Regions from separate parts of the Homo sapiens genome. Here regions 1, 2, 4, 5 and 6 are each linked to region 3. Evidence: promoter capture Hi-C in 16 types of primary human blood cells and fetal thymus (Javierre and others, 2016). All regions are on one chromosome and are shown on one strand. The core of a region is centred on a gene start or on the middle of the fragment in contact, and the rest is flanking DNA. Distances in the headings are between cores, read along the strand shown. Region 1 has its middle 120 kb from the start of AQP9. Region 2 overlaps LOC124903499 (a long non-coding RNA gene). Region 3 holds the start of MINDY2-DT (MINDY2 divergent transcript). Region 4 has its middle 76 kb from the start of AQP9. Region 5 overlaps FAM81A (family with sequence similarity 81 member A). Region 6 overlaps GTF2A2 (general transcription factor IIA subunit 2).

What was found. Contacts are between HindIII fragments. The CHiCAGO score rates a contact against its expected background, and 5 or more counts as called.
Region 1: a contact is called between a fragment that was not itself captured here and the fragment with the promoter of MINDY2-DT in region 3, in 14 of 17 cell types (total CD4 T cells, endothelial precursors, M2 macrophages and 11 more). The highest score is 14.3, in total CD4 T cells.
Region 2: a fragment that was not itself captured here is called in contact with the fragment with the promoter of MINDY2-DT in region 3 in 14 of 17 cell types (M2 macrophages, M0 macrophages, megakaryocytes and 11 more); the score reaches 17.6 in M2 macrophages.
Region 4: a contact is called between a fragment that was not itself captured here and the fragment with the promoter of MINDY2-DT in region 3, in 12 of 17 cell types (megakaryocytes, M1 macrophages, M0 macrophages and 9 more). The highest score is 15.6, in megakaryocytes.
Region 5: a contact is called between a fragment that was not itself captured here and the fragment with the promoter of MINDY2-DT in region 3, in 1 of 17 cell types (total B cells). The highest score is 6.1, in total B cells.
Region 6: a fragment that was not itself captured here is called in contact with the fragment with the promoter of MINDY2-DT in region 3 in 1 of 17 cell types (naive B cells); the score reaches 5.6 in naive B cells.

Annotation. Positions count from the first base shown.
Region 1 is chr15:58,251,816-58,256,022 of GRCh38, forward strand. No RefSeq gene overlaps it. Among named protein-coding and RNA genes, the nearest start is that of AQP9, 120 kb to the left of the region's middle. The HindIII fragment of the contact is 2,979 bases long and covers 422-3,400 here.
Region 2 is chr15:58,233,826-58,238,029 of GRCh38, forward strand. The region is part of intron 1 of LOC124903499 (a long non-coding RNA gene); the gene reads left to right. Among named protein-coding and RNA genes, the nearest start is that of AQP9, 98 kb to the left of the region's middle. The HindIII fragment of the contact is 2,190 bases long and covers 1,251-3,440 here.
Region 3 is chr15:58,767,998-58,772,265 of GRCh38, forward strand. It overlaps MINDY2-DT (MINDY2 divergent transcript), which reads right to left and starts at 2,977. Exons shown (of 2, transcript NR_135474.1): 1 at 2,390-2,977; 2 at 75-882. It overlaps MINDY2 (MINDY lysine 48 deubiquitinase 2), which reads left to right and starts at 3,305. Exons shown (of 9, transcript NM_001040450.3): 1 at 3,305-4,238. The coding sequence starts at 3,399. RefSeq lists an enhancer at 2,242-3,167 and a silencer at 2,980-3,259. The HindIII fragment of the contact is 12,290 bases long and covers 1-4,268 here.
Region 4 is chr15:58,212,702-58,217,042 of GRCh38, forward strand. No RefSeq gene overlaps it. Among named protein-coding and RNA genes, the nearest start is that of AQP9, 76 kb to the left of the region's middle. The HindIII fragment of the contact is 1,507 bases long and covers 1,761-3,267 here.
Region 5 is chr15:59,502,871-59,507,474 of GRCh38, forward strand. FAM81A (family with sequence similarity 81 member A) reads left to right here. Exons shown (of 9, transcript NM_152450.3): 5 at 4,343-4,472. Among named protein-coding and RNA genes, the nearest start is that of FAM81A, 67 kb to the left of the region's middle. The HindIII fragment of the contact is 3,067 bases long and covers 1,216-4,282 here.
Region 6 is chr15:59,650,326-59,654,618 of GRCh38, forward strand. It overlaps GTF2A2 (general transcription factor IIA subunit 2), which reads right to left. Exons shown (of 5, transcript NM_004492.3): 2 at 1,881-2,001; 3 at 344-448. The coding sequence starts at 1,952. Among named protein-coding and RNA genes, the nearest start is that of GTF2A2, 5.0 kb to the right of the region's middle. The HindIII fragment of the contact is 605 bases long and covers 1,986-2,590 here.

The sequences.
Region 1 (4,207 bases), core at 661-3,160, 520 kb before region 3:
TCAGGAAATAATAGAAAATGAGTAAATAGGGTTACAAAACCCAGAGTCACAGAATGTTAGAACTGGATGTGCCTCTGGAGAACCCCTTTATATTACAGATGGGAACACCGAGTCCTGGTGTGGGAACTGCCAGGTGGGCCAGCAGAGCCCTGCCCCAGACCTCAGAGCTCTGCCCCCAGTCTGGCGAGTATCTCACATCACACTCTGCCCTCGCAAAGCTTTAAAGCAGAAGTGTCCAAGCTTTTGGCTTCCTTGGACCACGACGGAAGAAGAATTGTCTTGGGCCACACATAAAATACACTAATACAAACAATAGCTGATGAGCTAAAAAAAAAAATCACAAAAATAATCTCAAAATGTTTTAAGAAAGTTTCTGGATTTGTGTCGGGGTGCGTGCGGCCCATGTGCCTCACGTTGGACAAGCTTGACTCCATGAAGCAGTATTCCTTCCAAACACCAGCTTTACCTCACACACAGCCTCAGTGGAGCTGTGGATGCAAGAAGAACAGAAGAGAGGTGAGGATTTCTAGTCAGCAGTTGCAGTAGGTGGGGAGAGAGTCCCAAACGTTAATTAAGGAGTCCATCAATCCCAATTCTCCAGCTCACTCACAGAATTTGAAATAAAGAGAGCAAGTGACTAGGGGGGAAGAGACCCCCAAGAAAGGCACTACATGACGAGTTGGAAGGGGTGGGCACATTTGCCTGGTTACCCAGGGATGCTCGCCAAGAAAACCAGACCTTTGAGACACAGGCTGCAGTGGCTGGAAATAGAGCTGGGATTGCAGGGCAGGTGATTCACATCCAGCTCTAAACCTTCCCAGACGCCTTGGCCAAGCATCCCAGGTCTGTCACCATCTGACTGCACCCTGCCCATCCAATTTTATCTTCTCCCAATGTCCTGCCGACAGCACAGGTCCTATCCCTTGTGGATTGGTCTAACCAGCCAATACCCTGGGAGGAGTACTGGTGTCAGCCCAGAAGCCCAGCCCAGGGGCAGTCCTTGATGAGGGAAGAGAAAGAATTTCCAGGGGATGGAGGAGTTGGGGTGACGCTACAGAGACTGGAGGGAAGGAGCCACAGGCCTCTGGAGACTGGCCTGGGCAAGGGCACACCAGTACTCCTGTGCTTTATCCACCCTGCTCCATCAGCATTGTCTCCTCCACACATACTTGCACCCTAGCTGGGATGGTGACATCAACATAGAGGGGGAAGTGGCCTCGCCATCAGCTCTGAGCTCCCTGCCCTCCAGTGACCAAGTAAGTCAAGGCCACCTCAAGAGCAACCCGTCGGCCTGGGTTTTGACAAGAACAGCAGGTGATAAAAAAGGACAAGATGGAAGGATCCAAATGTGTTGTTTTCTCTTCACAAACAGATTATAACAAAGATTACTGGCTTGGGCTGAGTAAGCCCTGAGAGTTATCACCAGAATGTGGGGTTCTAGGAGTGAAAAAAAATGATACTATCTCAATGGCGAGAGATAAAGAGACAAGAGCTTATTTTCTACCCAGACTGGTAACACAGCAGTGACCCTGGAATCTGGGATATAGCTACCCATTGACTTCGGCTTTAACTTTGTTTAAAACCAGCCTGTTAAAAAAAAGTAGAACGAAAGAAGCTCAAGATGTTATCCATGAAAACGACCCACCAGATAGCCCCCTAAACAGTGGGCTTATCAAATTGTCCTCATTTTTCTGAACAGAAGCAGGATGTGCTGGAGACACCAAGAAGAATAATTGCCCTGGCAATCCCTGTAAATCTCCTAAGAGGCTCTTGAAGTTCCTTTTTTTCTATTTATCTTGGTAATGAATTCTCTGAGCCTTTGGCCTGCCAGTTTAGTTATCTTCCCATACCCCTGACAAAAGCATAGCTGCGGGGAAAGACAATATTTTTGTAATCAAATGAGTATCAGTGAGATCCATGCAGCAGCTTCTGACATAGTTTTTAATGACTTGATTCTTCAGCAGCTTCTCCCAGGAGAAAGCCTTTGGGTATAATATGAATATGAAGAAATAGTCTGGATTTATTCAACTCATCATTTTTTAAATAATTGTCCACAGAAACCCTTGAACTTTCTGGCTTTTACTACATAGACAATGGAAAGGGGAAATTTGAAAAATTATTTAGATTTGATCAGTTTCGACTTGCAGTTGGGATCTTCAGGCATAAACACAGGGTTTTGAAAGAGCTTTGTTAGAATCTTTGCTCTGTTGTTTAACCTCTCTCTGTTGCAATTTCCAAGGCTATGAAAGAGAGATTATCATAGTACCTTCCTCATAAAGACATTATGAGAATTACATAAAATAATGACCATAAACATTTAACACAGAGCCAGATCAATAAATGTTAGATTTTCTTTCCTGTAGAAACCAACGGATGATCTCAAATTTCCATTTTATTTCGCTTCTACGGACATGGCCTCTAGATATTCTAAATGTCACATGGGCAGCTGTAACAGTGAACAAACAGCCTCTCTGAGCAAAATGAAGTCAATAGGACCTGCGTATTTATCACATGGAGGAGAAGTTGGCTAAAAGATTGCCGCATTTGTTTCCTAGGGCTACTGCAGCAAATTACCACTGGGCAGCCAAAAAAAAAAAAAAAGCAGAAATTTATTCCCCACAATTGTTGAAAGCTAGATGTTCGAAATGAGGGTGTTAGCAGGGGCAGTTCCTTCTGGAGGCTCTGAGGGAGAACATCTCCTGTGTCTTAGCTTTGGGTGGCCGCCGGTAATCTGTGACATTCCTTGGCTTGGGGCTGCATGAATTGTCTCTGCCTCAGTCTTCACATGGCCTTTCTCTCTGTTCTATGTGTCTTAAATCTTCTCCTTTCTTTTACAAGGACACCAGTCATTGGATTTAAGACCCACCCTAAATCCAGGATGATCTCATTTGAGATCCTTAACTTAATCATAACTACAAAAACCCTATTTCCAAAAAAGGTCACATTCACAGGTATCAGGGGTCAGGAGTTGAACTTACTTTCTGGAGAATGACACTATTCAACCCACTACAATTACTTTGAGTTCTTCAAACAAAATATGTCCCACTACTTAGGAATGAAATGACTTCAAAGCAAGTACTATTCATTTTCCATTTATCTGTAGAAGCCTAAATACACAATTTACAAAGTGTGGATTGTATCAAGGATTCAAGTTTCTTTGGAACCTAGAATCCTTTTAAGTCTCGATAGAAGATGGAGGAAAATAAACTCATCCTGGTAATTTTGATAACTGAATTTCAAATTTCTCAGTTCTAGTTCATGATGCTGTCTTAGGCAGAATAGTGATCTGCCAAAGATGTCCATGTCCTAATCCCTGGACCCTGTGAACATGTTTCCTAACATAGCAAAAGGGTATTAAGGTTGCAAAGAGGATTGCTAATCAGCTGACTTCCAGATAGGAAGCTTACGCTGGAATATTTAGGCAGGCCCCATGTAATCACAGTCATCCTTAAAAGAGGCAGAAGAGGTCAGAGTGATGCCACGTGAGAAGGACTTGTCTCTGGCTCTGAAGATCCAGAAAGGGGCCACAAGCCAAGGCATGCAGGCAGCTTCAAGAATTTGGGAAAGGGAAGGAAATAGTCTCATGCAGAAAGGAGCACAGCCCTGCCAACATCTTGGTTTTAGCCCAGTGTGACCCATGTTGGACTTCTACTTCAGAACTGTAAAATAATAAATTTGTATTAAGGCACCAAATTTGTGGAAATTTGTTATGACGGCAACAGAAAACAAATACACATGCACTCTGAATGAATACAGCGGCCTCTCCTACTTAAACTCCACTGAAAAGATGCTCAAGGGTGGGCAGAAGGAGGCATGAACTCACAAGGACAAAGGACAGAGGAGAGGAGAAAAGAGCAGCAGGTGTGTTGACGTGAGAAGGCAAATGGTCAGGTGGTACCTCACCTAGCTGTCCTGAGACAAGCTAAATCCTAAGCCATCAGTGTGAAGACAAGTAGCAGCCCAATCTGTTCTGCAAAACCCCCAAAAGTTTCAGAAATTAGTGGCACCAGATAGATCTAGAGGTTGGGGCAAACAGGAGGCTATAAACGGCATTGTTTAAGTCTTTTCAAAGAGCAGTTACAGCCCCAGATTCTATATCCCTCATTGACCAGCCAGACGATTGCTGCTCTCCAGCAAAAGACCAGTGGTTTTTGCCGATAAAGGGTGTAACCTACAATCTCTACAGGAAGAACACCAGGCATTGCTG
Region 2 (4,204 bases), core at 1,096-3,595, 530 kb before region 3:
AAATACTGCAATATACCCACGTATTTAAATGCACACGTAACTCAGAGAAACCAGCTAAAAATTCAAAGCATGTCCCTTAGCAAAGAACCAGCAGCCGGTGTGGGTTTGTTCAGGGAACTACTGCTTTGTATTATAAGCTTTTTAACACTGTTTGATTTCTTAATTACGTAAATAATTACCTCAATTTTTAAAAAATATAAAACTCCTCTGTTCTAAAAAGAGCAAGCCTGCAAGAGAAGTTAATGCAATTGAAAGCACAGCCTCATGAACCCCCTAAGTTTCCCTTGTAGTTCACCTCCTTGGCACAGACCAACCCTTCATGAACTCCCCTCCCTTGACTCACTCATGTCTTTGGTTTGTGCTCTGTCTTTGGCTTTGAGCAGCTGGTATCCTTTCATTTCCCATTCTGACATCCGCCTTCCATACAAGGTCCCAATTCACCTTTTGTCTTGAACCTTGATAGCTCAACTTTTTTCTTTCACCCTGCCTTTTTCCCCAACTTCTAAGACAAGTGACTCAGAAATGTGGCTTTAAGCAAACAATTATACGAAATATAATCTGTTGTAACTACTAATTTATCTCTGTGACTTTGGCCAAATCACCTCACTTCTCATAGTTTCCTTGTCTATGAAGTAAGAGATTAAATCTCGATGATCCTAAATCTTCCATCTCCACTGTTCTGTGATTTATATTTGGATCTTAAGGCTGAGTTGGCAAAGGTCTATAGGAATAATCATAAAGGAAGTGATGCCATCTATTCTATGATTAAGGAAAATAATTTACTGAAGATTCATATTGGGTTCTGTTCACTTTAAAAAGAAATGTAGGCTGGGCATGCTGGCTCATGCCTGTAATGCCAGCACTTTGGGAGGACAAGGCGGGTGGATCACCTGAGGTCAGGAATTCGAGACAAGCCTGCCCAACTAGGTGAGACCCTGTCTCTACTAAAAATACAAAAATTAGCTGGGTGTTAGGGCACATGCCTATAATCCCAGCTACTCGGGAGGGTGAAGCAGGAGAATTGCTTGAACCTGGGAAGTGGAGGTTGCAGTGAGCCGAGATTGTGCCACTGCACTCCAGAGACTCGGTCTCCATAAAAAAAAAAAAAAAGAAACAAAGAAAGAAAAGAAATGTGAAACTCTCCATCCGAAACTTAAAAGGATCAATGGTCCAGAGCTGAATCAAGCTAATAGGAAGCCTAAATGGAGAGCAGAAGCTTCCAAAGTCATTGAATTAGTCAGTCCTGATCAAGCTTCTTTTATGAACTTTTTTATGAGAGGGATATTCAAATCCAGATTAAAATAATGGCTCCAGTGACCTTGTAACCCAAAGAAGGGAGTTTGGTTTTAAATTGCCTAAACTCTTAGGTGAGATAAAAGGTAACTGGAGATAGACAAAGGCAGAGGCTTCCATTAGATGGGCCCAAACGACAAAAGAATAAAATAAGAGCCCAAAGATGCCCAGCCATCCCTAATTAAGGAAAAAGGATACTGCGCTGTTACAGGCAAAAGCATTTTTCCTTTCTTCCAAGGTACAGAACACCAAATTGTGTGAACTAATCCACTTGCCAAGTGGATCTTAGGACCAAAAGAGAAATGATGGTATGCATTTATAATTACTAACAGGTAAATTACAAATGGCAGGTTTAATATACCTTCTAGAGTTAGGGAGAAAAATCTTATTAGATATATGAGAGCCCAGGGTCATGTCACTAAGTAGATTAGACTTGATGGAACCTGCTGATTATGTCCCAGCAAGATACAGCGGGATCCAGGGAGGTCAGTTCTTTGAAGTATTAATAGCCTGTAAGTCTTCCACAAATATAAGAGATTAAGCAAATATGGTCAATCTCAAAGTAGCACCCAAATACACACAAACACACACACACACACACACGTTCTGAGAAACAGAAGGTAAACAATGCCAAGAAAGGAGAAATCACTAGGGATTCCCAGTCCTTTCCTATAAGTGAATTGACTTTTTAAAATATAGATAACTCCATCCCCACTAACAAACTCATTATTGTCTTATGGCATTGCTTCCTTCACTGAGGGGCATGGAGACAAAATAATAAAGGTATTTCTGGTGATGAAATGTTTTCCACCATTTATGTATTCAATACACATTGATTGAATAATAGAGAATATATACTGAACCCTCCCACTGTGCCTGGGACGTCATTCAGGGCCTTCCATATATTGTCTCATCTTATCCATATAACATCCCTGTCTGGGATTATACATTGATAATCTGAGGGGGGCCTGGAAATATTCATGAAAAGGGGGCAGGCATTTAAAGTTGTGTAATAGGGTGAGTAATTACAAATAAAGACTACTTCATATTAGTCATGATGTTCAAAATATTTAAACACTGATATAGTTTGGATCTGTGTCCCCACCAAATCTCATGTCGAATTGTAATCTCCAGTGTTTGAAGTGGGACCTGGTGGGAGGTGACTGGATCACAGGGGTGGAGTTCTCATGAATGTTTTTGCACCATTACCCCAGAGCTGTCTAAGTGAGTGCGTGAGTTACCACGCGATCTGGTTGTTTAAAAGTGTGTAGCACCTCACTCCTCCTCTCTTCCTCCTGCTCCAGCCTTGTAAGACATGCCTGCTTCCCTTTCGTCTTCGGCCATGATTTTAACTTTCCTGAGGCCTCCCCAGAAGCAGAAGCCACTATGCTTCTGGTACGGCCTGTAGAACCATGAGCCAGTGAAACCTCTTTTCTTTATAAGTTACCCAGTCTCAGGTATTTCTTTATAGCAGTGGATAACATGAGCACTGACCAATCCATAAACAGGTGCCAGCCTCAGTCCTAGCAGGTCATCCCAGCATATCTGTTCAACCCAGAATTAGCATCTTTGCCCCTCTCCCATCCAGGAAAGAGAGCCCGGCACTGTGGAACAAAACAGATTTTATATTCTGGGCCCACTGAAGAGGACTCGCCTCTTCAACTTCAGTAGAGGTCTAGAAGTTTGATGGGCTACCTGGGCCCCTGGTGGGCTGCCTGTCAGAGAAACTCAAGGAAGACACCCTGTTCAAAAGACCTATTATAAACTTGCCTACAGATTTTTCAAGTTGAGTAGTAAGCAGAATTCAGAGGCTCCTTCATCTCCCTGGCCTTAGAGGCCTGTGTGCCCACCAAAGAAGTTGTGAATGTCTACCAGAAGTTGGTCTTGGTACGTGATGTTTCTGGTGTGTGTGTGTGTGTGTGTGTGTGTGTGTGTGTGTGAATGGGTAAGTGGGTGGAGGGTGGGGGAGTGGAAGAAGTTCTCCACAAGCTCAAAAATATCTTTGAAGTCTCAAATTTTATCTTTAAAAGTCAGGCTAAATTTCAATTCTTCCCCATAATAGATCACTCCTTATTTTAATACAATAATTCCCTCCCAAAACATTGAGTAAATCTATGCTCCACAGTGAGGCTCCATGATTATCTAAAAGCTTAGGGAACCCCAACTCAGATGCACAACTGGTACCCCAAGTGTACTTGTGCTGGGGATAGGCCCCCAAATCTGGCCATAAACTGGCCCCAAAACTGGCCATAAACAAAATCTCTGCAGCACTGTGACATGTTCGTGACGGCCATGACACCCACACTGAAGGTTGTGCGTTTACCGGAATGAGGGCAAGGAACACCTGGCCCACCCACGGCGGAAAACCGCTTAAAGGCATGCCTAAGCCACAAACAACAGCATGAGCGATCTGTGCCTTAAGCACATGTTCCTGTTGCAGATAACCAGCCAGACCCATCCCTTTGTTTCGGGCCATCCCTTTGTTTCCTGTAAGAAATACTTTTAGTTAATCTAGACTGGGTGTGGTGGCTCACACCTGTAATCCCAGCACTTTCGGAGGCCGAGGCGGGTGGATCACAAGGTCAGGAGATGGAGACCATCCTGGCTAACATGGTGAAACCCCGTATCTACTAAAAATACAAAAAATTTTCTGGGCGTGGTGGTGGGCACCTGTAGTCCCAGCTACCTGGGAGGCTGAAGCAGGAGAATGGTGTGAACCCGGGAGGCGGAGCTTGCAGTGAGCCGAGATCACGCCACTGCACTCCAGTCTGGGCGACAGAGCGAGACTCCGTTTCAAAAAAAAAAAAAAGAAAGAAATACTTTTAGTTAATCTATAATCTATAGAAACAATGTTTATCATTGGCTTGCTGTCAATAAATATGTGGGTAAATCTCTGTTCGGGGCTTTCAGC
Region 3 (4,268 bases), core at 1,727-4,226:
ATACCGTAAAATGCTTAAACCAGCAGCATATATTTTAATCTATTAACATCTCCAATTCTTTTTTAGGCAGAAAATTCAAATTTAAGAACAGGATTTATTGTTTATGGATTGACATGGAGATCAAAAGCACACACAACTCCTAAATTCAACATTCTGAAAAAGCTCTCCATTATCTTTTCTAATTTTCCTGTTGTCCAAGAGTAGGATGTGGGTGGAGGATTACCTAGGTGCCGAGGCAAGAGACTGAAGGCACAAACTGTTTCAGTATAATAAAGAAAATAGTTAGAATAAGAATAGTCATAATACAAATTAGATATAGAGATGATCATGGACAATTATCAATCATTATTATAAACATGATTAATCATTAGCTTTTAATATTACTCTTTGTTGCATTACTAATATAACCTAGGAATAACCAGCGGGTATAGGGTCAGGTGCTGAAGGGACATTGTGAGAAGTGACCTAGAAGACAAGAGGTGAGCCTTCGGTCACGCCCGCGTAAGGGCCGCTTGAGGGCTCCTTGGTCAAGCGGTAACGCCAGTGTCTGGGAAGGCACCCGTTACTTAGCAGACCGTGAAAGGGAGTCTCCTTTCCTTGGAGGAGTCAGGGAACACTGCTCCACCAGCTTCTTGTGGAAGGCTGGATATTATCCAGGCCTGCCTGCAGTCCTGGGGCCTAAATCCCTCCCTGTGGTGCTGTGCTTCAATGGTCACGTTCCTTGTCCACTTTCATGCTCCTCCCATACTCCTGGTTCCTCTTTGAAGCTCGTAGTAGATAGCGGTAGAAGAAACAGTGAAAGTCTTAAAGTCTTTGATCTTTCTTGTAAGTGCAGAGAAGAAAATGCTGACGTATGCTGCCTTCTCTCTCTGCTTCAGCTACCTAAAAGAGAAGGCCCCCGCCATCCTGTAATCACGTGACTTGCTTCATCTTGTCAATCACTTAAAAGATTCACCCTCCTTACCCTGCCCCCTTGTCTTGTATGCAATAAATATCAGCGAGCCCAGCCGTTCGGGGCCACTACCGGTCTCCGCATCTTTACGGTAGCGGTCCGCCGGGCCTAGCTGTTTTCTCTTTATCTCTCTGTCTTGTGTCTTTATTTATTACAATCTCTCGTCTCTGAACACGGGGAGAACACCCGCTAAGCCCCGTAAGGCTGGACCCTACAGTTGGACATATACCATAGTATCATGTCAATGCGGATCACAAGGTCAGAAGTTAGAGACCAGCCTGGCCAAGGTAGTGAAACCTCGTCTTTACTAAAAATACAAAAAAAATTAGCTGGACCTGGTGGCGTGCGCCTGTAGTCCCAGCTACTTGGGAGGCTGAGGCAGGAGAATCACTTGAACCCGGGAGGTGGAGGTTGCAATGAGCTGAGATGGCGCCACTGTACTATAGCCTGGGTGACAAAGCGAGACTGCGTCTCAAGTGGGAAAAAAAAAAAAAAAAAAAAAAAAAGGGGCACAGTCTTCTGCATTCTCAGGTAAACAAGAATATAAGTATCCAACATTCATGTATTATATGTAATACATATTATGTGTGGCCGGGCATGGTGGCTCACGCCTGTAATCCTAGCACTTTGGGGGCCGAGGTGGGCAGATCACGAGGTCAGGAGATCAAGACCATCCTGGCTAACACGGTGAAACCCCGTCTCTACTAAAAATACAAAAAGTTAGCTGGGCGTGGTGGCGGGCGCCTGTAGTCCCAGCTACTCAGGAGGCTGAGGCAGGAGAATGGCGTGAACCCGGGAGGCGGAGCTTGCAGTGAGCCGAGATCGCGCCACTGCACGCCAGCCTGGGCGACAGAGCAAGACTCCGTCTCAAAAACAACAACAACAACAAATTAGCCAGGCATGGTGGCGGGCGCCTATAGTCCCAGCTACTCGGGAGGCTGAGGCAGGAGAATCGCTTGAACCCGGGAGGCGGAGGTTGCAGTGAGCCAAGATCGTGCCACTGCACTCCAGCCTGGGCGACAGAGAGAGACTCCGTTTCAAAAAAAAAAAAAAACAAAAGCAAAAACAAAAACAAAAAAACATATAAGTATGTATTAAAAAATAGCAATAAGAAAAAAAAAGACAGTAAGCTCCATGAAGATATAAGCTCCGTGATCCACTATGGCATCTCCAGTGACAGACAGCATCCAGCAACTTACTTGGTACTAAAATGTATTAAAGGAATGAATGAAATACTACTTTGCAATCTTGTCTGCCTTCTCTAACCAACAGAGGTGCAAAAATATCACATTCTAATTATGTATCAGGTATTTATATGTCTGCGAAGGAAGACCTGTCTCGTTAATTTTTTATCCCCAACAGCCTAGAAAATGTTGAAAGAAAAAAGATGGGGGAAAAAGCCCTTTTCTGTAACAAGTTAGAATAGGACCCACATACATTTTGTTACTAACAAAACGTCCAGCTTGTCTTTCTTCTTTGAAAACTGCATGGCCTTAAGAGGAGTCCATTCTAATTAGGAAAAAAGTCACCTTTTCAGAAGCAGGCGCTTCCCACTCCATGCAAAGTGAAGCCAAGTTAGCAAAACCGCAAAGACTTGGCTAATTCAAATACAAGCTAATTTATTATTATTGGCGCAAATTAGCCACTTTCTTTTGCTACGCATGTCAATGTCCACAATCATACCGACCCTTTCCTGTAGGGCGAATGTCTCACCAGTAGCTGGTGAGAAGCACAGCTCTTCTCAGCCAAAACCGACAGAGACTGGAATTTGTGCAGTGCAGTAATCCAAAGCCGTCGAGTAGATATGCCTGCTTTAAAATCTGCATCTCGTAAGAAATGCCTTAATTTTCCATATTAGGAGCTGAGAAACCAAGTCCCCTGAGCCCTTCAGGGACAAGTTCTTTTCCAAATACTACAACCACCTCCAACCACCCAACAATGCCTCAGGCCGAGGGTGGGCCACACGCGACCCAGCGCTAAAGGGTCACAGCCAAGCTGTCCGCCTCCTGCCTTCCCTTTAAAGAAGCCGCACACAAGGGAGCTGCCCGGGAGTTCAACTTCCGGCCACATAGTGAGAGGATGTTTTCCTACTGGAGCTGAGCCGCGGGGGCGCGCCCCCCGGCCGCGCCCTCCTAGCCACGCCCTCCACGCCCGGCCTTCCGAGAGCGAGCTCGGTCGGACGCACGGAAAGGGCTGGGCCACGTGGGCGGCTGCTGAGTGGTTCGCCTTCGCCTCTCAGCGCGCAGTCAGGCGGAGGCAAGCTCAGAGCGCACGGACAGAGCGGTAGCGCGCGCCCGCGCGCGTTCTTAGTACTCTCCCCGGTGACGTGCCTGACCGAGGCCGCGCCAGGGCGCTGTTGCTGCCAATACAGCTGTCATGGCGTCCAAGGCGCTGGCTGCGGAGAAGTGGCCGCGGTCTCCATAGAGCTGGGGGCGGGCGGCCCGGTATGGAGAGCAGCCCCGAGAGCCTGCAGCCGCTAGAACACGGGGTGGCGGCCGGGCCAGCGTCAGGGACAGGTTCTTCGCAGGAAGGGCTACAGGAGACCAGGCTCGCCGCTGGTGATGGTCCTGGGGTATGGGCGGCGGAGACCAGCGGCGGGAATGGGCTGGGGGCGGCGGCCGCCAGGAGGAGCCTCCCGGACTCGGCTTCTCCCGCGGGCTCTCCTGAGGTTCCCGGACCCTGCAGCTCCTCCGCGGGTTTGGACTTGAAGGACAGTGGTTTGGAGAGTCCTGCTGCCGCCGAGGCGCCTCTGAGAGGGCAGTACAAGGTGACCGCCTCCCCGGAGACAGCCGTGGCCGGAGTGGGTCATGAGTTGGGTACCGCCGGAGACGCGGGAGCCCGCCCGGATCTCGCCGGCACCTGCCAAGCAGAACTGACCGCCGCCGGCTCCGAAGAGCCCAGCAGCGCCGGCGGCCTCAGCAGCAGTTGCAGCGACCCGAGCCCTCCTGGGGAATCTCCGAGCCTGGACTCTCTGGAGTCGTTCTCTAACCTGCATTCTTTTCCCAGTAGCTGCGAGTTCAATAGTGAGGAGGGAGCGGAGAACAGGGTCCCTGAGGAGGAGGAGGGCGCGGCGGTGTTGCCCGGGGCTGTTCCTCTGTGCAAGGAGGAGGAGGGGGAGGAGACCGCTCAGGTGCTGGCGGCCTCCAAGGAACGCTTCCCGGGACAATCTGTGTATCACATCAAGTGGATCCAGTGGAAGGAAGAGAACACACCCATCATCACCCAGAATGAGAACGGACCCTGCCCCTTGCTGGCCATCCTCAATGTTTTGCTCCTGGCCTGGAAGGTACATTCTGCAGCTTTCTACTTCCTACAG
Region 4 (4,341 bases), core at 1,264-3,763, 560 kb before region 3:
TCTGAAAAAGAAGGGGATTCTATTCTAACCTCCCACCCAGTGCAACATGAAGATAATAAATGGCAACTTTCATAGTTTTGCTTTAAAAGTCAAATGGAAATGAAAATAGATAAAATGGTTAAGATAATGCCTGGCCTATTGTTAGTGCTTTATAAATATGAGCTCTCGTTGTCTCTCTATTATGACGTTTCTGATTCTACAACTTCCATGTTTACAATAGAATCCTGAGATACTTCAGACCTTCACTTCTTTTGCTCTGCACAGTGATCAGAAAGTGACTCATAATCATCGCTAGTCTAGGTCTCATCAGGTGACCAGGAGTCCACCATGACCTTGTACAGCGCAAGCCCTTGATAAATGATTCAATTAAATTCAAAAGGGCTTGGGCAGCAAAAAGTGTCCTCTTGCTCCATGCCCAGCAGAGGGAGCAGAAGAAAAGGAACAAATCCTTTCTCAGCTATGTACTAAACACAAAGGAAGACAGAAGGCTGAGGGCTTCTAGAGGTCTCCTTATCCACCCACCCCTCTCCCCTCATTTTGTACATTGTGAAACTGAGACCAAGAGAGGAAAGGGGATTTCTCAACGTTACCAACCAATAAGCGGTAAGACCCTCAGAAAGACAAGCCATGTTTTCAGGCCCAGGTCTGGGGCCTTTGACCCATGGTTGTTCAATGCTATCATGTTGATTTCTTTCTTTTCAAGGAAATCAGCCGTGGGTAACCGCAACCTCACCATTCTCTTTTGCCCCAGTTCTCTGAGGGCTTTGGATTTGAATTCGGCTCTGCTGCTAACTTGGGCAAGTTCCATAGCCTCTCCAAGATTCAGAGACATATTTTTTAAGTAATTATAATAATTTTATTTATCGTAAAATTTGGAAGGAATAAATAAAATGATGTAATGTAAAACTCCTTGTAAGGCATCCTGAGTGCATGAGTTGCCATAATAGATGTAAATACCTATCCTTGTCAAAAAAGAAATCGTTTCACCAAAATGAATTGAAACTCTATGACACAGGTCTCAAACTCAGAGGCTGCTGGGAGCCAGCCATTTAAATAAAGCCGTCTGGATATACAACAGGGACTTCTAAGGGTGGCAGCAAACTGCAGAGCTCACAGCCATGGGAGATAAGCAACGTTTAACAGGAGAAAATTCAAGCCCAGGGTTGCCAGATCTTCCCAGAGAAGTTGGAAATCAGGGATTTCATGTGCAAATTTCTTATTTTTAAAAATATTATACAGATGAAATAAAACCCAGGCCAGCAGCTTGTTATGCCTGCTTTTAAAAAGCTAATTTTAGAGTTCCATATGCAGAGACACACACCATACTACAAATGAGAAACTCAGCCCCATAAATTCAGGAGAAGAGATGATGTCTGTCATTTGGAGGGAATGTGCCAATAATATCAACCCACAGACTTGTTTTTCTAAAAGGCCCTTACTCAGCAAATACATTGAACCTCTGGGGCTTATGTTGCAATCTCTGGAATATCCTCCAACTTTCCTTGATGACTTTTGATTTCCTGCCCGTTCCGTGCCTAGTACCATTTAAGTTGCTGTAGTCTTCCAGCTTGACTGTAAATTATACATTCCACATTGATATGCTTTTTCTCTAAAAGGTAGAAAATAACATTTTACAATTTTATATATAACATTCATTTTTATTTAACAGCTACCTTCATTAGATATTCACTGAAAAGAGGTCCATTATAAGCAACAGCTAGATGGGGGACAGGGCTGACTGTCTAGAATTTTTTATACCAAGCTTTCCAACACACATTAAGAATAAAAATCCTTTTGTTCCAGTCAAAGAAGGAAAATAAACTGTAGGTACATCAGAAAAGGAAAAAGAAAATGCAATGTTAAATGAAAACACAAAAAGGGGGTGGGGGAAGGACGGATTCGGAGAAAAAAAGCAGAAAAGTTAAATCCAACCTTGAGGATTTCTCGGTTATTTTTACTTCTCTACCTAGGAAGGCTTAAGCCCCTTAATTTATGCTTGATTTCCATTGAGCATCTCCACCACTAGTTCCCTTTCTTTGAGGGGAAAAGGACCCAATAGGAAACACGCTTACTTTTCATTGTTTAACTACCTTGCAAAATGTTCTCGTGCAAACTCAGCATGGTGGTTTAATTTATAGGTTGGTGTGTTTAAAGCTACCCTTTTGCAGAAGGCACTACCCCGTTGGAGATTGGAGAAGTTACTGCCCGGAGTATAACCTTTCATTTGAAACTAAGGTTTCCAATTAGCATGGCCAAGATATGATTGTGTTGAGTTACTGTTGTTGTGATTGTTTTCAATAATTCCAGGAAGCCTTTTAAAAATCAGCCCGAGAATATTAAGGAACATGACTGATGGAGTGACATGGCCAGGTCAGTGAGGGTGGTGCTGTGTTAAAGAAACAGTGAGACAGTGTAGCCCAGGAAGTCGAGGTGGGAGATGGAGTGAGAGGGAGCGTGAGAGCGCAGGGCTTCCTGTAGTCCCCAAGCTCAGGCCTAATGAGAAGGAGCAACCATGATCCTGAGGAGAGTATCAGGGATCAATCAACTTCAGGCCCCTGCCTCCCCCAGTCCTTCAGATAGGGAAAAGCCAGTGTGGCATGAGAAGGAAATAAAAACTGAGGTTAATTTTCATGAGAGCAAAGAGCAGTGAATATAACACCAGAGGCTGCGCTCTGTTATGTTCTAACTCTGTGGCCTTGAGTAAGCTCTATAATCTCTTTGAATTTTAATTTTACAATTCATAAAATGAAAAATTTATAAGATAAAAACCCAAGGACTCTCCTGTGTCTTATGTTATATAGCCAGGCATTTTCCCTCAACTTTTTATTTTGAAAAATTTCAAGTCTATAGAAAAGATAAAGGAATTCAGCTAACAATATGCCTTTCTCCTAGATTCACCAAGTTTTAACATTTTACCTTATTTGCTTCCTCCTTTGTCTCTGTTGCTGACTATCTATCAGTCTATCAATCTATCCATCTACCTATCTACCTACCTACCTATCTATCTACCTACAGAGGAAATACAGGAGGAATAAAATATATATATTATTATTTGTTAAATTACTTAGAGTACGTTGCAGACATTCATGGCATTTAGTCACTACTTCACCACGCATTGCCTAAGAATAAGGAGGTTCTTCTATGTAACCACAATATCATAATCACATCTAAGAAAATGACAATGATTCCATATGACCTAATATTCAGTTCATATTTATATTTCTAAAATTATGCCAAATTCTTGCACTTGTGTTTTTAGCCTTTTAAAGCTTTTATTGTTTTAAAATATTAAAAAAGATACTTTTTCTTTTTTAAAAATTTATTTACGTTGACTTTTTAAAGGAGTCCAGTTATTTCATAGAATGTTCCACACATTCTAGATGAAGCTGATTGTTTCCTCTTGGTGTTTGTTTTGTAATCTGTTCCTCTATCCCTATATTTTCTGTGCCCTGAAAATTAGGTCTGGCAAGTTGATTAGATTCAAGTTAAACATCTCTGGCAAGAACACTGCATTGTCCATTTTGTTACTTAATGTTGAATCATACTAGGGTAGCCACTTAATGTCATAAGAGCGTCCCAGTATAAGTGATGCTAAGTTTGATCCCTTGGTTAAGGTGGTGATGGCCAGAGGTCTCCACAGAGTAAAAGTACATTTTCCCCTCCTTTATCATCAGTAGTCTGTGAGGTAGTACTTTGGTACCATATGAACTGACTTTTCTCCAAAATGTCACCCAACTGTTTTAGTAACAATTAAAGATCCTTACCTGAGTCCATCATTGTATTAGGACTGTATCCTTCTTCCCATATTTATTAGCTAACATTCTTCTGTAAAGATGAGCTTTCCTTTTATTCTGTTTCTTCTCTACTTTCACTCTCTCTCTCTCTCTCTGTCTGTCTCTCTCTCTTTCTCCCTCTCTCTCTACATCATATTACCATGGTCTCATACATTTCTTTTTTATTTAATGTGTTAAAGTTGCTTACTTTGTTTTTTTAATGTTCAAACTGTCCCAAATTTGGCTAAAGGGAGGCCCTTCAAAATGAATCCTGTATCCTTCTTATAAGAATGTATTAGGCCGGGCGCGGTGGCTCATGCCTACAATCCCAGCATTTTGGGAGGCCGAGGCAGGCGGATCACAAGGTCAGGAGATCGAGACAATCCTGGCTAACACGGTGAAACCCCGTCTCTACTAAAAATACAAAAAATTAGCCGGGTGTGGTGGCGGGCGCCTGTAGTCCCAGCTACTCAGGAGGCCGAGTTGGGAGAATGGCGTGAACCCAGGAGGCGGAGCTTGCAGTGAGCCGAGATCACGCCACTGCACTTGAGCCTGGGTGACAGAGTGA
Region 5 (4,604 bases), core at 1,499-3,998, 730 kb after region 3:
CCCCTGCCCAGCCTGCTTCTTTTTTTACAAAAGTACACGAGGGATGTGTGCTGGTAGGAAAGAATCAGAAATGCAATTAAATATACAAAATAAAAATGAAGCCTGGCCAGGAGTGGTGGCAGCACTTTGGGAGGCCGAGGTGGGTGGATTACCTGAGGTCAGGAGTTCTGAGACCAGCCTCGCCAACATGGTGAAAACCAGTGTCTACTAAAAATACTAAAATTAGCTGGGCCTGGTAGTGGGTGCCTGTAATCCCAGCCACTCAGGAGGCTGAGGCAGGACAATCGCTTGAGCCCGGGAGGTTGCAGTGAGCTGAGATCGTGCCACTGCACTCCAGCCTGGGCAACAGAGTGAGACTGTCTCAAAAAAAAAAAAAAAAAAAAAAAAGCCTTACCACCTCTTGGCTCTGTTTTACTCCTTAGAGGTAACTAATGTTAACAGTCTGTTGTCTGTCCTTTCAGACTTTTCTCATAAGTAATAATAAGATAATAGTTTATTATATACAATGGTAGAATGGTTTGTAGTCTAATAAGTTTCTTTACAGTGTGATTTTAACTTTACAAAGTATTATATATACTATTCTGCAACATAAGTTTTTCCACATAACATGTGGACACTTCCAGTATGCACATAGATCTAGCATGCTTTTTAATTGGATATGGAGTATTCTGCTACATCTATGTACTATAAGTCAATGTATTTAGCCACTATTTTTTTTTTTTGACAGAGTCTCACTGTGTCACCCAGGCTGGAGTGCAATGGCGCAGTCTCAGCTCACTGCAACCTCCGCCTCCCAGGCTCAAGCGATTCTTGTGCCTCAGCCTCCTGAGTAGCTGGGATTACATGCGTGCACCACCACACCCAGCTAATTTTTGTATTTTTAGTAGAGATGGGGTTTTCCCATGTTGGCCGGGCTGGTCTCAAACTCCTGGCCTCAAGTGATCCACCTGCCTCGGCCTCCTAAAGTGCTGGGATTACAGGTGTGAGCCACTGTGCCCAGCCCTAGCCACTGTTGTATTAATAGAAATTTATGTTATAGTACTTGTGTTTCCAAGTGAGACACAGCATTGAAGCCAAGTGATAGCTAGTGAAAGCTTCAGAATACTTTTGAGACTTTTCAAACTACATTTTAAAACACAGTCTGTCCCTCAAACGGCTTTGTAAAGTTGATGAAACTGGTCTGATGTAGTGATACCTGATAGTGTTTATCTAGGAAGCTTATGTTTGGACTGGAAAATAATGTCTTTTAAAAAAACTATTATATTTTTTATTTCATAGTATTTTAAAAACCTCAGCTTTCCCCAAATATGATTTCAATAATATTTTGCTAAAAAATTATGAACTCAAAATAAAAAATCAGGGTCTACATTTGGCATTATTTTTAATCATCATTGACATGGGAATGATTTGTGAGGATTAATGAAATAATATATGTCAAGTATCTAGTACAGTACCTAGTACATAGTAAATATTTCCTTATATTCATTCATTCACAAATATTTATTAAGCCTCTACCATATGCAAGGCAATAAATAAAACTAGGGTTTTAGGTGATGAAAGAGGCATATATAATGTCTCCTTGCATGCAGTTTACATTCTAGAACAGTTGTTGCAAAGTAAGAGTCTATAAGAAAGTTGGAATAATTGAGCTGGTAGCTTACTTTCTTTAGAGTCAATAATAAGTTTACCACAATTTTATCCATTTACTCACTATTGTTTTTTGCACCCTACTCCTTCTTTGTGGGTGTTCTTTTCTCTTTACTGAAGTACATTCATTAGTAACTTTTTCAGTATTGGCTTGTGGGTGATATTTTTCTAATCTTTGCATGTTAGAAAAAGTCTTTATTTTGTACTTATTCTTGGATGATAGGTTATTTACCCTCAATACTTAGAAGATGTTTCTCCATTATCTTCTGATATCTGTTGTCTCCTATATCTATTGTGGGCTGTCAGTCTTATTGTCAGTTTTTGGTAGCTTTGGGTAGGTTACTTCTCTTTAGTCTGTAGCTTTTAAGATTTTATATTTATCATTGGTTATCTGAATTTCCCCATGCTTTATGTATTTTTACTTATCCCAGTTTGTAGTCATTGAACATCTTAAAATTCATGTCTTTCTTCAATTTTAGAAAATTGTTGGCATTCACACCTCAAATATTGCTTCTTTGCCATTATCTCTATTTCCTTCTGTTGGAACTCCTCCTTGACTTATGTTAACATCCCTCTATTTGACTTCCATGTTTCTTAACTATTTTTTCATGTTTTTAATCTCTGTCCACTACATTCTGAGTGAGTTCCTTGCTACTATCATTGAAGCCACTGATTCTATCTTCAACTATGTCTAGTCTAGAATTAAGACAAGGGCTGGGCGCGGTGGCACACATCTGTAATCCCAGCACTTTGGGAGGCTGAGGCGGGTGGATTGCCTGAGGTCAGGAGTTTGAGACCAGCCCGGCCAACATGGTGAAACCTCATGTTTACTAAAAATACAAAAATTAGCCAGGCATGGTGATGTGTACCTGTAATCCCAGCTACTCAGGAGGCTGAGGCAGGAGAACGGCTTGAACCCAGGAGGCAGAGGTTGCAGTGAGCCGAGATCACGCCACTGCACTCCAGCCTGGGTGACAGAGTTAGACTCTGTCTCGAAAAAAAAAAAAAAATCACAGAAAGGCGTCATTGATCATCTTAGCCACCTATAGCATGGAAGTAAGTGATTTGCTGGATGGTGTCTGCCTGGAAGTGGATGTACACCTCACATCTGCAGTTCACCCCTGTGTCTGCCCACCACTGACAGGGGAGAATAAAGGGTTCTCCTCTTCTACCTTCTGAGTCTTGTATAAATGACTCTCACTGTCAGAATCTAACTCCGAACCCTTCTGGCAATGACGTCTGGGAAGTATAGTTTGGGGCTTCAGTCCCTACGAGACAAAGAGCATTTACAAGGAGCAAAAATGTTGTGTCACTTAAGAATGATCCATTTATGTAAACTCTTTTCCTTGTCACTAATCCTCCAGTTTTTTTCCTAAGTCTCTAACCATTAGCCACTTTCCTTGAATGTCTGGCCATCTCTTATTCCAGGCAAAATGAATCTCCCAATATATTGTTAGAAATTCTGTCTTCCTAACAATCTTTAGGGCTACTCCTAAGTGGACTTAGAAGCATCAGCAGTCTTATTCCAGAAGGTGTCAGCATACTGGGTGTGACCATCTGTAAGCCAGGCCTGACTTTCTCCCTCAGTCCACCTGGTCATCAAGAACTCTTCTAGAAGCCACAGATTTTTTTGTTTGTTTGTTTTGTTTTGTTTTGTATTATCGTTTTATCTTTTTGTAGACACAGGGTCTTGCTATGTTGCCCAGGCTGGCCTTGAACTCCTGGGCTCAAGCAATTCTCCTGCCTCAACCTCAGCCTCCCAAGCAGCAGGAGGGAGAAGATGAAGAAGTCATAGGCATGGATTGAAGGAGAGTTGGTGCAGTAGCAGGAATAGATGCCATGGTGGGAGTCTGTGCTCTTGTAACTTACTTGTGCCTTTTGAACCTGCTTGAACCCTTCCCCTTGAAGATGGAGTGCTGTTCTAGGCCCACCTTCTAGTGTGGTATTCATGATGGATTGCTCCGATTGCAGAGTCACCTAATGGCATTCTGTCTCTACTGAGCCCAGTAGCAAGCCAGCAGCTTCTTCTCAACAGAGGAATATTGTCTCAGAACAGAGCATTAGTTAGCTCTAAACTCTTATGGGTCCATTCTGTGACTCTCCTATTAGGACTCGACAGAGGCCCCACACAGCTCATCTGCCACACATACTTTGAGTACCATTGGATCTGCCAAGTTGCAAGGCCCACAGGGCAGCAGCTTTTACTACAGCTTGAACTGGCTGCAAAGCCTTCCCCTGCTCTACACCCTACTCATACTATACAGCCTTACGAGTGATTCAGTCAAAGTTTAGAAGTAATATTTTCTAACATGGTAGAAGTTTCCTCCCAAATCCAAGGAGGCCCCCAACTTCGAAAGGCAGGGGTGGTACTGAAGAGTGACAGACCACATCCAGCACACTAGCTATGCTCTTTGTATTGGCCTCTCGCTGCACATACAGTGTTGTACTCATGATCGTTGGAAAGACTTTATTTCTTTGGTGGTTACATCTCTAGCCTTATTAAGCAACATCCCTGTGGTTTACCTTAAAAACCATAATGAGGCCAGCTCTTGGAATTCATTTGAACCTCTGTTCAAAAGAATGATGGATAGTGCACTTTCTTTGAGTGGGTTTTGCATTTCAGAGTGTATAAGGAAGCTTTTGCGCATTGTTTTTAAACTTTAATAAGAATCAGCTTTGTTCTTTGTCTGGACAGATGTGATGCCAGCATAGCTAGACTTTCTGCAGAGCACAAAACGACCTATGAGGGGCTCCAGCACTTGAACAAAGAACAGCAGGCTGCCAAACTTATCTTGGAAACGAAAATCAAAGATGCAGAGGGACAGGTACGACCTGTTTCAGGTAGCTTTTAGAAGCGGGTAATTTGTTCTTAGCTAAGAATAACATGGTGTTGATTATTTCTTACAGGAGAAACCAGCTGGGGCATCTAGCATGGGTTTATGCCAATCATAAGCATC
Region 6 (4,293 bases), core at 1,038-3,537, 880 kb after region 3:
AGAACCTTGGGGATTACTCCGCCACTTACCTTTAATCCTGCAGATAATATTTCAGGTGTTTGGAATCTCAGTAACTCTTCAGGGAAGGTAGCCAAACATACAAAGGCTGATTTGTGAAACAATGAAATAAAAATCTAAAAACATCTCTGTATCTCACATTAAGTGGATCAACTTAGTTTATAGTTGATTGAAAAGTATAATTTAGTTACTATAAAACAAGTTCCAAAAATTGACTAAGCCACCTCTTCCTCTTATGATTAATAAATATGTAGGGGTCCTAAAAAAAAATCAGTGTTTTAACAACCATTGGTACAGGCTTCTAGATTCAGGAAAATATCCTTACCCTGAAATTGACTCTGTTCCTGACCCTCTGAGCCAGTGCTGCATTTATAGCCTTATCAAACTGAAGTAGAACTTGAAGGGCAAGTTGGGGGGTGATCTGTTGAGACTGAGAAAAGGTAAAGGTCATAAATCCCGTTAAGGAAGAACATTAAAGACAAAGTAAATAAAAATATACAAATTATCATCTAAAATTTAACTGAGGTTAACCAAAGCCTCTAAACTAGAATTCCTTTATCTCCTTTGCCATAACTGATGATGAAGCACCAAGCTTGAAGACATCTTTTGTACTATCTTGACACAAACAATCTTGAAGAGAAAACATGCAGTGATGTTACAAAGCCAGAACAAAACTTTGTCAATTTTCCCTTACAGTGGCTGGAAAGGAGAAGATAGACAAAGAGGTGTTTCTTTTAAATACACAGGGCCTATATTAACAAACAAAAAACCTATTAAATTTTATTGAATCTCATAAAATATACCAACAAATGGAAATACTTAATATGTTTTTTTTTTTTTTCCTTTTTTGTGAGACGGAGTTTCGCTCTTGTTCCCCAGGCTGGAGTGCAATGGCGCAATCTTAGCTCACCACAACCTCTGCCTCCCGCATTCAAGCGATTCTCCTGCCTCAGCCTCCCAAGTAGCTGGGATTACAGATGTGTGCCACCACACCCAGCTAATTTTATATTTTTAGTAGAGACAGGGTTTCTCCATGTTGGTCAGGCTGGTCTCTAACTCTTGACCTTGGGTGATCCGCCTGCCTCGGCCTCCCAAAGTGCTGGGATTACAGTCATGAGCCATGGTGCCCAGCTGGAAATACTTAATATGTTTTTATTTGGGAGAATTATACAGAAGGGTTAATTCTCTTAAAATTGAAATATAAATTCAGACTTGTAAATCTCAGAAGACTTAAATTGGACAAAACTATCTTAAAGCTAAAAAGTATATGACTTTCTTCCCTAAATTTGAGAAGGGGGAAACCAACAATCTCAATTTTTATGTTGAACAAAAATTTTTGAAGATTTAACTTTATTTATTTAGAGGCAGGATGTTGCTCTGTCACCAAGGCTGGAGTACAGTGGTACCATCATAGTGCACTTAAGCCTCAAACTCCTGGGTTCAAGCCATCCTCTCACCTCAGCCTCCCGAGTAACTGGGACTATAGGCATGCGCCCACACCGAACTAATTTTTTTATTTTTTGTGGAGATGGGTGGTGCTATGTTGCTTAAGCTGGTCTCAAACTTCTGGCCTCAAGCGATCCTTCCACCTTGTCCTCCTAAAGTGCTGGGATTAGAGGCATGAAACACTGCATGTACCCAGATTTAGCTATATTTAATGATATCATTCAATCATGTTTTGTGTCCTGTTGTCAGGACAGTGTAATAAACAAGAATTTGAGGTAATTTAATCAGTGTTACTGACTTGCTGGGTCAAATAGTCCAAGATATTTTACCTCATATCTCTTTGCCTAAGTGATATGACAAGAATTACTGTAAACCCATCAAGATAAAAATGTTTGATTTTTAATTCAGTCTCCCACCTGTATGAGCTCATCTAGGCTCTCCTGAAGACTGTTTCCCAAAGTAGTATTTCTGTATAACTGATATGCCATGGCTTAGGAGGAAGAATTTGTTTTTCTTATTCAAGCTTGCATTGATGTCCTAAAAATTTAATATAAAATTGTTAAAAAAGATCATACTGTAACATCATAAATTATGTATATAATATCATCTACCTCAAATATTCTAATATAGAACTAGGAGAACGCTTAGTGGTTGCACATTACTAGATAATCATTTTAGAATTACAAGGAATTGCTACAAATGATTTTCCAGTTTTTTTCCCCATGATTTTGACATGGGCATTTATACTCCTTTATGCAGTATAGCTGTTATATTTATTAAAATGTCTTTACCATTTCCTTCAAATGTCTGCCTTCTGACTTAGTCTAGAATTTTCCATGTACTGTCCTTTCTACCTGCTGTCAAGTCACTGGTAAAATCTTCAGCTCATGTTTGCATGTCTGCCCCTTTATTTTCCTGTTCTCTCTAAATTCAGTATTTACAGAGTGCCTACCAAGAGAATGGCACTGTGACAGGTTCCAGAGAGAAGATGATGATTAAAGGCATGCTCCCAATCCTAAAAATTTATACTCTAGAGAATGTAACAAACATACAAAAAGATAAGAACTGGGATAAAGATACAAAGCATACCATGGAGGCTGCCTGTAGAAGTGAGCTGGCTCAGAAAAGCTTCCAGGTTCTTTAAGCTAGACTTTAGCCAAGCAGAGGAGGGAAGTCATTCCAGAGGCTGACAGAATAGAATAAGTAAAGCCATGGAAGGATGAAATGTTTGTGGGGAAAAACATAAACTGTTCTACATTATCAGGGCATAAGTACGAATAGGGAGTGGCAGGAGATGAAGCTGAAAGAGACAGCATAGATGGAGTTGTTTGGCAGGATAGGTGCAAGCAGTGGGGAGTCACTGAAGAATTTTAGGCAGGAAAGGTCAGACAGCTGGGCTTCAGTGCGTGATTTAGAAACAGATGAGGGATGGGGGCTCGAAAAGGGTGGCAGCAGTACACAGTCAATAAATATTTACTGAGCTTCCACTACACGTCAGGTGTAAGATCTTGACCTCATGGCCCTTTCAGTCTGGAGATGGATGGGGGAAAATACATTTGAGGAGCAATCATCAGATAAAACTCAGCAAAAATAATGGCCAGCCATCAGTCCTTACATTTCACACCTTGCTAGCACTGGATTCAACAGATCATTTCTGCCTTCTTGAAACATTTCTTTGGCTTTGAGACAGCATTCTCAGTTCTCATGTCACTGGATACCATTGTATTTTTTATTTTCTTTTGCTGGTTCCTCCTCAGCTCCCTGACTTGTAACTGTTGAACTGCCCTAAGTTTTCTTGGGTCCTCTATTTTCCACATACTTTACTCTCTTAGTTACCTCATCCAGACTTACGGCTTTAAATACCATCTACTATCTGGTGATGACTCTCAAATTTGTATCTCCAGCCCTCAATTCTCCCTTTGTACCCATATATAAAACTGCCTGCTTGACACTGGATAAAAATATCAAGTAGGTAGCTCAAATTCAATTTGTCAAAAACCATGTTTCTGATGCTACTCTTGCAAATATGCTCTGTCCTCAGTCTTACCCACCTCGGTAACAGTAAACATAGTCTTCCTGTAACAGCTCAAAAACCTGAGTCAAGAGTAACTTCTCTTTTTCTTACCTGGCATCCAATCCATCAGCCAACCTTTCAGCTCGTCCTTCTAACTATAGCCAGAATCTGACAGCTTCTACCATCTTCAATGCTATTACCCTAAGTCACCATCATCTGTCACTAAAGTTAATGTGATAACTCATGGTCTCCTTATTTCCAGTCTTGCCTATCCCAACCCCACCCTCATAGTAGCCACACTAAGACTTTAAAACATAAGGCAAATCACATCACTGGTCTATTCAAAACCACCAATGGCAGCATCCCATCTCAGTGAAAACCACAGAGTCCATGGCTTGGAAGGCCTATGTGATTTGGGCCCCCCAGTGCCTACTTCCCTATCTTCGCCCACTCACCCTCTCACTCTGCTCTGGTCATACTGGTCCCCTGCTGTTCTTTGACAGGGGAAGCATGATCCTGCTTGAGGGCCTTTGTGGTGGCTCTTCTTTTTGCTGACAGTATTCTTTCCAAATACCTGCATAGTTCACTCTCTCATTTGATTCAGATCTCTGGGTCAAGCATTACTCCATCAGAAAGGCCTTCTATAATCAACCTATAAGAAAGAATTACCTTCCTTCTTCCTCACACTGCTTTATTTTCATTCATACCAATAACTGAAGCTAACATATATATGCTTATTCTGTCTCCATCTACTAAAATAGATGACACACTGAAGACAGGGACTTCTGTTCATTTACATATTTACCAACTAGAAC